Regions from separate parts of the Homo sapiens genome. Here region 1 is linked to region 2. The links are contacts of gene promoters, found by promoter capture Hi-C in blood cells and fetal thymus (Javierre and others, 2016). All regions are on one chromosome and are shown on one strand. Each heading gives the region's core, a stretch centred on a gene start or on the middle of the fragment in contact. The rest is flanking DNA. Distances are from core to core; before and after follow the strand shown. Region 1 has its middle 16 kb from the start of VWF. Region 2 holds the start of PLEKHG6 (pleckstrin homology and RhoGEF domain containing G6).

Region 1 (7,060 bases), core at 2,152-4,651, 170 kb before region 2:
CCCCAGAATGTCTGATTGGTCCCCGGAGGCATTGCTTCCCAGACACCTCTTGTGTTCAGCTCACACTGTTCCACCATCCAAATGTCCTGCCTCCTCCCCACTCCTCCTCTCTCCTGTTCATCCTTCCATGTCCCCCTCCTGCAGAGGGAGAATTTGTCATTTGGTGAACACCTTGCAAGTACCAGATACTCTGCTAGCTGCTTGTGAACACTGTGTTACTTCATCCTCCTCTGTGAGTGTCCCAGTGCTGCCGTAACAAATCACCACAAACCGAGTGGCTTAGAACAGCACAAATGTCTTCTCCCACAGTTTTGAAAGGAAGAAGTCTGAAATCAAGGTGTCCACAAAGGCTGTAAGGGAGAGACCTTCCTCACCTCTTCCAGCTTCTGGTGGCTTCAGACTTTCCTTGGCTTGTGGCAGCATCACTCTAATCTCAGCCTCTGTCTTCACATGGCTCTCTCCTCATCTCCCTGTGTGTCTCCCACTGTATATTTCTTATAAGAACACCTGACATTGAATCTAAGTAATCTGGAAGGACCTAGTAATCTTTTTTTGGTTTTTTTGTTTGTTTGAGTCGGAGTCTCACTGTCACCCAGGCTGGAGTGCAATGGTGCAATCTCAGCTCACTGCAACCTCTGCCTACCTGGCTCAAGTGATTCTCTTGCCTCAGCCTTCCAGGTAACCAGGATTACAGGTACGTGCCAACACACCCAGCGGATTTTTGTATTTTTAGTAGAGACAGGGTTTCACCATGTTGCCCAGACTGGTCTTGAACTCCTGACCTCAGGTGATCCACCCGCCTCAGCCTCCCAAAGTGCTGGGATTACAGGCGAGAGCCACCGCACCCAGCCTCTTTGTTTTTGTCAAGGTGGAGTCTCACTCTATCACCCAGGCTGGATTGCAGTGGCACAATCTTGACTCACTGCAGCCTTCACCTCCGAGGTTCAAGTGATTCTCCTGCCTCAGCCTCCCGAGTAGCTGGGATTACAGGCACCACCACCACACCCAGCCTTTTTTTTTTTTTTTTTTTTTTTTGGTATTTTTAGTAGACAGGGTTTTGCCATGTTAGCCAGTCTGGTCTCAAACTCCTGGCCTCAAGTGATCTGCCCACTTCGGCCTCCCAAAGTGCTGGGATTACAGGCGTGAGCCACCACACCCCGCCTAAGGATCTAGTAATCTAGGGTGATCTATCTTGACATCCTTAATTACATCTGCAAAAAGCCTTTTTCCAAGTAAGGTCACATTCACAGGGTCCAGGAGTTAGAATGTGGACATGTCTTTTGGGGGTCACCATTCAATCCACTGTACCTTCTAACAACCGTTTGAGGGAAAGAGAGCGTTACTCTCATTTTATAGTTGAGGATGCTGAGGCTCAGACAGGGTAAGGGCCTTGCCTAGGATCACACTGCTACCAAAGGCAGCCAGCATCTGAATCTACCTGATTACAAAGTCCGTGTTTTCTCCACTATACCTATAACTCTTCCATAAGCCTTTTCTCCTTTCCTCCCACCCTTCACCCCCGCTTTTCCTGCCTTTGAACCACCTCTGGGTGCTTCTGTGGCCCTCTCATCTTTTCATGCATTTTTCTTTTTTTTGAGACGGAGTCTCGCTCTGTTGCCCAGGCTGGAGTGCAATGGCGCGATCTTGGTTCACTGCAACCTCTGCCTCCCTGGTTCACGCCATTCTCCCACCTCAGCCTCCCGAGTAGCTGGGACTACAGACGCCCACCGCCACACTCAGCTAATTTTTTGTTTTTATATTTTTAGTAGAGACGAGGTTTCACCGTGTTACCAGGATGGTCTTGATCTCCTGACCTCGTGATCTGCCCGCCTCGTCCTCCCAAAGTGTTAGGATTATGGGCATGAGCCACCGCTCCCAGCCTTTTCATGCATTTTTGTTTGTCTTATCTCCTCCAGTCTGAGCTCTCCTTAGAACAAGACCTTGCCTTACTCATCTCTGTATCTTCCAAAGTGCTCTGTCTGGAGCATAGCACATGGTAAGTGCTCCATAAATGTCTGTTGAACTCCCTGCTAGTAGAACAATGATGTGGGTTAATTAGCATATAATATTAAAATGTAGCTACAGAACTGAAACTGCAGATAAAAAAAATTGCTTAATACCCAAGGAAGTTGTTGCCTGCTCTCCAAATCATCAGCACAGAAGATAGCACTCGTCACTGTGGTTGGGGAAATTGCACGGTGAAAGTCACAGGATGGCTCTGCAAGGGGGCAGGGACATCAGACTGGGGTCACGTTCCCATGTGGTATTCTGCGCCTGTAACTCATATGACACTCTGGCACTATTTCTAAATAACACTCAAGTGTCTGTTTTATCAGAGTATAACACACTTGGCTGGAATAGTTCACTTACTGATATTCCACAATTTATGTAACCAGTTCCATATTATGGGATATTTATTTAGGTTAGTGCTACTTTTTTTTTTTTTTTTTTTTTTTTGAGATGCAGTCTCGCTCTGTCACCCAGGCTGGAGTGCAGTGGCGCAATCTCGGCTCACTGCAAGCTCCACCTCCTGGGTTCATGCCATTCTCCTGCCTCAGCCTCCCGAGTAGCTGGGACTACAGGCACCCGCCACTACACCCGGCTAATTTTTTGTATTTTTAGTAGAGACAGGGTTTCACCGCGTTAACCAGGATGGCCTCAATCTCCTGACCTCGTGATCCGCCCGCCTCTGCCTCCCAAAGTGCTGGGATTACAGGCGTGAGCCACCACTCCCGGCCTACTTTTTTTTTTTTTTAATTAACAATGCTGCAGTGAACATCTTTGAAGCTATATCCATGCACAACCCTCAGGATTACTCCCACAGGATGAAATCCTACATGTGGAGCACTGGGTCAGCCACCGTCCACATTTTCAGTGAGGCCTTTGACAATAAGGCCAAATGGCCCCCCTGAAAAATTGCAATGGTTTATAATGGTTGCAATGGTTTAATTACCCATTTGCTGAGTAGGATTTTGCCAGGTGAAAATGAGGGCAAAGGCACATCAGCTGCAAGGAAGGAAGTAAAAGCTTAGAAGCAGGCAAGCTCTGAGATGCTAAATCAGTAAGTAGGTGAATAAGCCAGTTGTTACAGCCTATAAAGGAGACTCACAGGAAAAGAGACCAAAGAGAGGAATAAGAGGCAAGTCCTCAGGGACCTTCAACCAGTGTAGGGGTTTATGTTCATCCTGTGACACCAGATGAGGCCCTCTGGCAGCAGTGGCATGTATTGTGAGAGGTCAGATGGAGAAAGGGAGATCCATTAGTGGTTGGTGGAACCTTCCCGGACAGGGAAGACGAGGGCCTGGAGGAGACCATGGGTTTGACAAGAGAAGAGCAGATACAGCCAACCACGTAACACATTACGGTAGCAGAAGAACAGCCAAAGATGTCTACATCCCATCTCAAACCTCTGAATGCTACCTTACATGGCAAAAGGGATTTTGCAGATGTGAGCAAGTTAAGGGTCTTGAGATGGGGAGATGATCCTGGCTTACCCCAGAGTATCCTGCTGGGCCGATATAATCACAAGAGTTTTTATAAGAGGAGCAGGAGGGTCAGCATCAGGGAAGGAGATGTGATGATGCGAGCAGAGGTCATGCAACGCGGGGCCACGAGGCAAGGAATGTGTGCCCCTGGAAGTGGATAGAGGCGAAGAACAGGTTCTCCCATAGAACCTACAGAAGGAATCCAGCTCTTCCAACACACCTTGATTTTGATCCAATTCGAGCTTCTTACAATTACGAATTGTAAGATAAATTTGTGTTGTTTCAGGCCACTAAGCTTGTGGTCATTTGTCACTGCAGCAATAGAAAACTAATATAGGCCAAGATATCATGCCACACAACCTGCTCCCTTGCCCTCATGGAGGGTGTCCCAAGGCAGCTTTGCCAAATAAGTTAGAGGACAATTAGTGCTGTGAGGCTCAAGGAAGAAGGATCCCTGAGGACCACAGTATGAGAGCCATTAGAACTTGGGCTGATGTAAACAGCATTAAGTACAAATGGGAAGGGTGCGTGACCTCTGGGGGCGCATGGGGCAGGGCTGCTCAGAGGCAGGGGGATGGGTAAATTGACCTCTGCCTGTCTGAGGAGTAAGTTCTCCAGGTAACTAGTACAAAAGCAAAAGAACCTCAGGGGAGGAAAGGTTTTCTAGGAGGACCCATCTTTGTCTTTTCTTTGTATATTTGTAGCATCTCTCTTACGTAAATTCTGCAGGAAAGAGAATTTTCTTGGCAGTATGCGCCAAATAAATAAACACAGCAGTATTTCTTAGGCCAGACGACCAGCTCCCAGCATAAAGCTGTAGCCCCCAGCGGAGAGGAAGCTGTCCTCCTCTACTTCCTCTCTTCTAAAGACAAACATCTTGTGCAAGAATAACATGCTCACTTCCTTCACAATCATCAAAATAGAGAGGACCCACCCACGCTACAATGTCAGAAGAATGGTGCAGCTTCAGACTCATCTTCCCTGGTTCTCAGGAACAATGACACCACATTATTGCTGCTATCGAGCTACAGAGAACTCAGACCATTACATCTGGTGGCATTCCTGGCCCCAGTAGTAGCACAGCAGGATTCCTGACCCCAGAATCACTATCTCAAGACCTGGGGTTCTAATTTGAGAGGCAGAAAGTTACAGCAACTCAAATTTATATGCATCTTACAAAATAGCTTCAAAATACATAAATTGACAATTGACTTCAAAAAGGCTTTCTCAATTATCCATAGGTCAGGCAGATAAAAATCAGTAAAGATAGAAATTTTAAAAACAATGATCAGCCTAGGCAACAAAGTGAGACCTCATGTCTACAAAAAAAAGAAAAAATTAGCCAGGTGTAGTGGCACACATCTGTCATCTTAGCTATTCAGGAGGCTCAGGCAGGAGGATTGCTTGAGCCCCGAAGTTCCAGGCTGCAGTGAGCTATGATTGCACTGATGCAGGGCAAGTAAGCTCCCAAATTGGGACTTAGCCCTGGAAGATTCTTGGCTTTGCTCAGGAAAGAATTCAAGAGCCAGCTGGTGGTAGAAGAAAACAGCTTTATGGAGGCAGCAGTGTGACAACTTTATGACTACTCCTGCAGAGCAGGGCTAACCCCTAGGCAATGTGTTGAGAGCACCAGCTCAGGGGCAGGTCAACAGTCATACATATACCCACTTTCAATTACTTGCAAGTTAAGGTATTGAGAGGTGACAGCGTGCTGGCAGTCCTCAGAGCCCTTGCTTGCTCTCAGCACCTCCCCTGCCTGGGCTCCCACTTTGGCGGCATTTGAGGAGCCCTTCAGCCCCCCACTGCACTGTGGGAGCCACTTTCTGGGCTGGCCAAGGCTGGAGCCCGCTCCCTCAGCTTGCAGGGAGGTGTGGAGGGAGAGGCGCGAGCAGGAAGCAGGGCTGCGTGCCGCGCTTGCGAGTCAGCTGGAGTTCCGGGTGGGCGTGGGCTTGGCGGGCCCCACACTCAGAGCAGCCGGCCAGCCCTGCTGGCCCCGGGCAATGAGGGACTTAGCACCCGGGCCAGCAGCTGTGGAGGGTGTACTGGGTCCCCCAGCAGTGCTGGCCCACCGGCGCTGCGCTCGATTTCTCGCCGGGCCTTAGCTGCCTTCCCGCGGGGCAGGGCTCGGGACCTGCAGCCTGCCATGCCTGAGCCTCCCACCCACTCCATGGGCTCCCGTGTGGCCCAAGCCTCCCCGACGAGCACCACCCCCTGCTCCACGGCGCCCAGTCCCATCGACCACCCAAGAGCTGAGGAATGAGAGCGCACAGCGCGGGACTGGCAGGCAGCTCCACCTGCAGCCCCAGGTGCGGGATCCACTAGGTGAAGCCAGCTGGGCTCCTGAGTCTGGTGGGGACGTGGAGAGTTTTTATATCTAGCTCAGGGATTGTAAACACACCAATCAGCACCCTGTGTCTAGCTCAAGATTTGTGAGTGCACCAATCGACACTCTGTATCTAGCTGCTCTGCTGGGGCCTTGGACAACCTCTGTGTGGAAACTCTGTATCTAACTAATCTGATGGGGACGTGGAGAACCTTTGTATCTAGCTCAAGGATTGTAAACGCACCAATCAGCGCCCTGTTAAAACAGGCCACTCGGCTCTACCAATCAGCAGCATGTGGGTGGGGCCAGATAAGAGAATAAAAGCAGGCTGCCGGAGCCAGCATTGGCAACCCGCTCCGGTCCCCTTCCACAGTGTGAAGGCTTCGTTCTTTTGCTCTTTGCAATAAATCTTGCTATTGCTCACTCTGGGTGCACACTGCTTTTAAGATCTGTAACTCTCACCGTGAAGATCTGCAGCTTCACTCCTGAGGCCAGCAAAACCACGAGCCCACCGGGAGGAACGAACAACTCCAGATGCACTGCCTTAAGAGTGGTAACGCCCACCGCAAAGGTCTGCAGCTTCAATCCTGAGCCAGGGAGATCATGAACCCACCAGAAGGAAGAAACTCTGAACACATCTGAAAGTCAGAAGACACAGACTCCAGATGTGCCACTTTAAGAGCTGTTAACTACGAGGGTCTGTGGCTTCATTCTTGAAGTCAGTGAGACCAAGAACCCACCAATTCCAGACGCAGTATGGGTTATTCAGAAATTTCTAGAAAAATGGTGGTAACTTTCACGTGGTTGCCATGAAAAGAGGTGGTAACTTCTGTGTGTTGCCATGGCAATGGTAAACTGACATGGAATTGGTTGTCAGGTCTTTCCCCCCCCCCCCCCCCCCCAGCTGGAGTCTTGCTCTGTCTCATAGGCTAGAGTGCAATGGTGCAATCTCAGCTCACTGCAACATCTGTCTCCCAGGTTCAAGTGATTCTCTGGCCTCGGCCTCCTGAGTAGCTGGGATTACAGGTGCCCACCACCACGCCCTACTAATTTTTGTATTTTTAGTAGAGATGGGGTTTCACCATGTTGGCCAGGCTGGTCTCAAACTCTTGACCTCAAGTGGTCCGCCCACCTCTACCTCCCAAAGTGCTACGATTACAGGCGGGAGCCACCATGCCCAGCCAACTGGTGGGCATGTCATGGAGAGGTGTTTTCCCCGCCTCTTCCCTGTTTCAGCCAATCTTCAATCTGG
Region 2 (6,947 bases), core at 4,448-6,947:
GCCTAGGAGGTTGAGGCTGCAGTGAGCCATGATCGCACTACTGTACTCCCAGCCTGGATGACAGAGCAAGATGCTGTCTCTTAAAAAATTAATTAATTAATTAATTAAAGTTAGCTATTGTTATTATTGTAATGATCCAATGATTCCAAAATTTAGTTACTTTATCCTCATTTTACATACAAGGATGGAGATATAGACAAATCAAATCCAGCTGCCCCCAAAGCCCGATGAAGGGCTTCCCTATGAACCAAGACCCTGGCATGAGACAGAGATGGCTCCAAGCCTCTGAGCCCTGCACAGTGCATTTGTATTCTAAAAACAACAAACCAACAAGTGCAGGAGCAGTAAGGGAGGCAGAGATCCGTCATTTAGGCAGGCAGAAATGATTAATGCAAAATTAAGGTAGAAACCGACACAAAATGGGCTGGGCACAGTGGCTCATGCCTGTAATCCCAGCACTTTGGGAGGCGGAGGCAGGCCAATCACGAGGTCAGGAGATCGAGACCATCCTGGCCAACATGGTGAAACCCCGTCTCTACTAAAAACACAAAAATTAGCTGGGCATGGTGGCACGCTACTGTAGTTCCAGCTACTTGGGAGGCTGAGGCAGGAGAATCGCTTGAACCCGGGAGGCAGAGGTTGCAGTGAGCCGAGATTGCGCCACCACTACACTCCAGCCTGGCGACAGAGCAAGACTCCATCTCAAAAACAAACAAACAAACAAAAAGAAAAAGAAAAAAAAAAAGATTCCACAGCTCTTGGTCCAGCACCTTTTCCTCCTTCTCTACCCAGCCGACTACTACTCATCCCTCAAGTCCCAGCACAAAGCTTGCCTCCTCTAGAAGCCATCCCTAGCTCCCCTATGTAGTAACTGGTCCTTCCAAAGTGTTCCTGCAGCTCCCAGTTTATCCCTTCTATGTCTAACTTCCATATCAATATTCTGTTCACCCATCTGTTCATCCAGTGTTCTGTTCACTACAGGGCATGTTGGCATGTGCCTGTGGTCCCAGCTACTCGGGAGGCTGAGATGCGAGGATCACTGGAGCCTCGGAGGTCTGGGCTGCAGAGAGCTGTGATGGCGCTACTGCACTCCAGTCTGGTTGACAGAGTGAGACCCTGTCTCAAAAAAAGAAAAAAAATTCCACAGCCTCTCTGGGGCCGCATGTCAAAAGGGTGCCTCGGAGCACAGACCTGGACATCCAGACATCTGACTGGAAGATATGCCACCGTAAATCCCAAGAAGGTAGATCCACCCGATTGTCTTCTAGTCACCTTCGCCATCAGCTTCCAACAGAGGCAAAGGCCTTACATTCTCAGTGTCCCAGTCTTGGCTCAGTGCAAGACAAGTGACTGATAAACCTCACGCTAAGGCAGAAAGAGCCCTCTTTCCCCTGGGGCAGACATTGCTAAGCCATCTTAGCATTCTTTCTGCTGAGCCAGCCACAGAATCCTTCTTAAGTTAATGTTCCAGGAACCCACCACCTATCAGAATTAGCCCGCAATTCAGGATCTGAGAGAATCTGGAATTTTAAAAAAAGAAAAAGAGAAAAGAATTGGCCTGCAAGGTAAACTTACATGGTATGTTTGCCCTAATGGAGAGGAACATTTAGGTGCATCACAGATGTCCTGATGCTACAGTAATCAAGCAGGAAAGGAAACTGAAATTATGGAAGAATTCCAGGTATCTAAAAAGCAAATGTGGTTCCTTTGGGTAGGGACAGAACAGTACAGGCCAGTCTATCTGCAAGTCATTCTGTCTGGGTCCTCTAGCAAGTCAATCCAGTTCAATTCCCAAACACCATGCCAGTCTTGTGTTAGGCTGGTCTCTGCCCTCAGGCATAGGTGGCACATGCTAATATCAACTTAGTAGGGAGAACAAGAGTGGTGCCTTTTAAAGAAACATAGCGGTCAAGGCAGCTGCAAGCAGGGAGGAAAGTGATCAGCCTGGCTGCGGGATTATTAGGAAAGGCTTCGTGAAGGAGGCAGTCCTAGGAAAGACCTCGAAGGAGGTAAGTGGAGTCGGAGGACAAGGCACCCAGCTGAGGGGAACAGCTTGAGCAAAGGCATGGAGTCAGGAAAGTCGAGGCCGACCCAGGGAATGGGGACACATCTAGGGATTGAGTAGGGAAGTATAACTGAGGTCAAACTGCGGAGGTCCTGGAAGGCCACAAAGAAGGTTCGTCCTCCTAAGCCACCACCCAGAGACCCTCGGCTCGGAAGCTGGGATATTCCCAGGGAGCCAACAGGGTAGACCCTCAGGAGGCCTTTAGGGAAGTCTGCCCTTCCCCAGTTTCTTTTTAAACATGCTCTTCCCTCCTCCAGAAATGTCCTTTCCTCCTTCTCAGCCCAGCTGACTGCTACTCATCCTTCGAGTCCCAACACAAAGCTCGCCTCCTCTAGAAGCCATCCCTGGCTCCCCTATGTAGTAACCGGTCCCTCCAAAGTGTTCCCACAGCTCCTGACTTAGTCGTTCTTGGTCTAACTTAAATATCAATGTTCTTTTCGCCCATCTGCCTCCCCACTAGTCTGTAAGCCCCTAGAAGTCAGGGCCTCTTATTCTTTTCTATATTCCTACTGTCTTACACATTGCCAGTAAATGTGGAAGGAAGGGGGAGGGGACGAAAGAAGAAACGGGAAGCACCAGTTCTGGCCTGAGGCACCAGAGGCTTTGCCCTGTGGCCTGTCCTCCTGGTATTCATCTGCCTCACATGACCTGGCGCCTCCTAGCTTGAACCCTCAGTTTCTGCCTCGCTCTGGGCAGGGAGGACACAGCTCCCATTAGCTGCCTCCTGTTGCTAGTGCCTGCCAGCCCCTCATTAGCCCAGATGGTCCCCACTTCTGCCCTGAGAGATATGGGCTCAGCAGAGGTCGAGGCACAAATGAGTTTCCCTGACCTTCCTGCCTGGTGAGCCCCTTATGCCAACCCCAGGCAGTTATCCTCAGGCTGCTATTGGACAGAAGCATTTGATCCTCAGAGCTCTGACCGTGGACACACACTTTACCATCAGTTATGGGGTCAATCCAGGGGCCTAATGAGGAGCATCTTACCTGGGAGAAAGTGAGGCATATGACTCAAGCTAGACATGTGAGGAAAGGCTAGGATAACCAGGAATAAAGAGAAGTATCCAGATGGCATACTCTGGTCCAAGGACCAGATGGCCCCTAGCCTCACTTGGCAGAGGCCAAGCCTCCAGCCTCCCAATTCTTTACATTTCATTCAGCTCCCTGAGAATGCTCCCCTCAGCCTGCCATAGGAGTGTGCTCTCCGCAGCACAGAGGAGTCATGGAAGTGGAGACTGTGAGAGTGACAGAAGAGAAGAAACAGAACATGGAGGCCTGCCTCCTAGGCCACACACCTGTGCCCGGCCACACCTCTGGCTTCTAGACTCCAGCTTGCCCTGGGAACCTCTCCTCCCAGGGAGGCTGAAGACAGGCCCTGGGGCAGTAGTGGGTGGAGACTGGACCTCAACGCCTAGAGGGAAGTGAAAGGGTTAACCACCCCGCCACCCACCACCACCTGCCACTGGGCCCCTCTAGCCAGCTCACCCCAGAGCACTGTAAGCCCAGGCTTGTCTTTGGTGCTCTCTCAATTTCATCTTCCCTCTTATTCCTCCTTCCCACTCCTTCTGGGAGACACTGGGAGGAGAAGCTAGGGGCCATTGGCACCAGCTGTCTCTGGGGTGTCATTTAATACTGTCCGTAATCACCACCTCCTCTCCTGGCTTATTAACTCTTTCCCTCATGGCTACTCTTGTCATCCCTGGACATCTCTCTATCTCTGTCTAGCTCTCACCACACACACACACACACACACACACACACACACACACACACACACACACACACACAGTGAATGGGAAGAGGGAAGGGCTAGGAACTAGGCACACTCTGGTTTCTTGCCACTGCAGTTCCTTTCCCACCTGACTTCACCCCCGAAAACTAGTCCCACCACCAGCTGGGCCAGGAGCAGGAGACAGGCTGGTTCAAGGAGCTGGAGGAACAGAGGACACTTCTGAACCAGCAGAGCAATCACACAACAGCAAGCTCAGAGAAAGAGAATCCCAGAGGGCAGATTTGAGGATGGACACAGGGAATACAAAATTAGAAACTGCCCAAAGATATAGATTCCTCCTCCAAACAAAATAGAGTCACCAGAGTCCGAGTGAGGACTAGAACACTCTGATCATGTATGCGTTTCATAGCCTAGATGGGAAAAGGGAATAGAGGCCTTTTCCCCTGGCAACTCAAGGAGATTCTGCTTCTGAAAGTGTTTCCTGAACTTCAGGATGCTCTGAAGAAGTAAGGAGCCGTATCAATCACTGTTGAGTTCATTGGCAGGAAATAGACCACAGTCAGGGTGAGGGGCTGGGAGCCTCAGACCTGCCACCTGCCAACTACAGGGTCTTGGGTTTCATGGTTGTGAGATTATAATGACCACACATCCACAGGACACTTCTATCTCAAATATCCAGTGCTTCTGTCAGACGAGGTGCCATGATTTGGAGAAGTGAAAAGGTGGGGAAACCGAAGCAGGAGGATCGCTTGAACCCAGGAGTTGGAGTCCATCCTGGGCCACACAGCAAGATATTGTCTCTATTTTCTTTTTAAAAAATAAATTTTAAAAATAAAGAAAATAAAGTATGGTCCTTTCATGCAATGCCCAGCATGTGTCAGTCCTTCCACAGCATCTTTTTCTTTTTCTTTCTTTTTTTTTTTTTTTTTTTTTGAGATGGAGTTTCACTCTGTTGCCCAGGCTGGAGTGCAGTAGTGCTGTCTTGGCTCACTGCAACCTCCACCTCCCAGGTTCAAGCGATTCTCCCGCCTCAGCCTCCCAAGTAGCTGGGACTACAGGCGCCCGTCACCATGCCCAGCTAATTTTTGTATTTTTAGTAGAGTCGGGGTTTCACCATATTGGCCAGGCTGGTCTCCATCTCCCGACCTTGTGATCCGCCCGCCTCGGCCTCCCAAAGTGTTGGGATTACAGGCGTGAGCCATCGCGCCTGGCCCCACAGCATCTATTTTAGCAGCCACCGCAAGGGCTGGGTGACCCTGGTGTAGCCGGGAGTGGGCTTATTTGCAGGTGAACTGGGAGGGTGCCCCCACCTGAGTCTTAGGTCATAGGAGAAGTGCGGGTCAGGCCTCAGCTGCCTATCCCTGGAGCAAAGGCAAAGTCCAGGATAGCCTTCCAGTATCACCTTCCACCAGGCAGGCCAGCCGGTCCTCTGAGAGATAAGGCTCACACTTTGGACTCCACACAGCGACGGGGCCCCCTGCCCCTCCAGCTGGCAGGCGGGCTCCCTGCCTGCTTAGGGGTCTAGGCCGAGGCAGGGGGAGGACCGGACGGCCGGCCACTCGCCGCGACCAGCAGGAGAGAGGGGTGCCTGCCACAGGTTGTCACCCTCGCCGCCTCCCCCGGCGGCGCCCCGCCCCTTACTCAGCCCTCATTACTGCAGCGCCTCGCGGGGGTCTGGCCCGGAGTGGAGGGCGCGCGGTCCCAGCCCTCCCGCTCGGCCGGCGGGTGTCGAGTTCAGGTGCGACCGAAAAGGGGAAAGGAGGGCACCGCCACGTGAGCTGTCCTCTCCGGGGAAGGCGGTGGCTGCGTGAGGGCGGGGGCTGCTCGGTCCCCAGGGCCCCGCCCCTCTGCCCCTCTGCCCCGAGCGGTGCTGGCGGTAGGGAGGGGCCAGCCCGGTCCCCGCCCTCCTCGCCCGGACCCGCGCTGCCCGGCTCCCGCGGGCCGCTCGATCCCAGTCCCAGGCTGGGCATCGGGGCTGGCTGGCATCGCCGGGGAGCCGACGGCGACGGGGAGCCCCGCGGGCGGGGAGGGCGGCGCAGGGCAGCGGGTGCGGTGACACCTGTGGGCACAGGTGAGCGGCGGGAGGGCTACGCGGCCCGGGGGCGGGGCGGCCGGGACCCGGGGCCTGGAAGCCGGGGCGAAGGGGAAGGAAGGCCTGGCCTCCCGAAGGCGGGAGGAGGGGAGCCGGGGGCTGGGCTGAGACAGGACCCTGGGTAGGGAGCAGTGCGAGGGAGACAGCGCCCTCAGAGGGAGGACTATTGGGAGGCGGCAGGAGGGACAGCGAACGTTTCCTCCTCTGCTCCTGAATCGGAGGAAGGTAAGGGAGGGCTGAGGCAGGACCTCAGGCCCACCCGGTCGGGGCACAAACACCTGCGCAGCCTTCTTGAGCCCACCGCCCCTTAGGAGGCCTCTCCTCTTCCAGGCCCTGCCCACTCGAGGGCGGGCCCTCCCTCCAGGTTTAGGGGGGAGGGATGGAGCCCCACGCCTGGCCCCCAGCTCCATGGTGGTATTCCCAGAGTCTGGGGAGGACCAAATATATAGCCCGAAACTGGAGAAACTCTAATTCTATTTGGCTGGTCTCTAAGGGCAGTGGCCGGACAGCTGGCCCCACTCACCTCCCTGTCTGTGGTCAGGAGGGTTCAGGTAGGAGATGGGCAAGCCTTTCAGTAAAGGCCAGACAGTAAAGATTAGAGACTTCGCGGCCTACACCGTCTGTCCCAACTAGCAAGAAGCAGTCACAGGTTATTAGGAGACCAGCAGAAGAGGATGGATTCCAACAAAACTGTGTTTATGGACACTGAATTTGAATATCATGTAATATTTACTTGTCCCAAAATATTGGTGGCTTTTTTGCAGGGGGGGCAGCAGTTGTTTCAACTATGTAAATATGTAAAGGCTTACAGGCTGTACAAAAACTGGTGGCAGACTGGGCTGTCTCCAGCCACCCCCACTCCCAGCCCACCCCACCCACCATGGCCTCCCTCCAGCTTTTTCCCAAGCTTTATATGGGGAAGGGGATGGGGTTATATCTAGGTGCAAGGAGAACCCTCCCACCTGGGTGTATCCAGAAAGCCCGAGACCTGTCTGTGACCCTTGTTCCCATTTGAGACCAGTGCAGGAGCTTGTACCCCAAATATGCACACATGTGAGAGAG

What was found. Contacts are between HindIII fragments. The CHiCAGO score rates a contact against its expected background, and 5 or more counts as called.
Region 1: a contact is called between a fragment that was not itself captured here and the fragment with the promoter of PLEKHG6 in region 2, in 1 of 17 cell types (M1 macrophages). The highest score is 7.0, in M1 macrophages.

Annotation. Positions count from the first base shown.
Region 1 is chr12:6,136,835-6,143,894 of GRCh38, forward strand. No RefSeq gene overlaps it. Among named protein-coding and RNA genes, the nearest start is that of VWF, 16 kb to the left of the region's middle. RefSeq lists an enhancer at 5,513-6,070. The HindIII fragment of the contact is 753 bases long and covers 3,026-3,778 here.
Region 2 is chr12:6,304,985-6,311,931 of GRCh38, forward strand. It overlaps PLEKHG6 (pleckstrin homology and RhoGEF domain containing G6), which reads left to right and starts at 5,698. Exons shown (of 16, transcript NM_001384598.1): 1 at 5,698-5,864. RefSeq lists an enhancer at 4,512-5,232 and a silencer at 5,595-5,644. The HindIII fragment of the contact is 5,964 bases long and covers 827-6,790 here.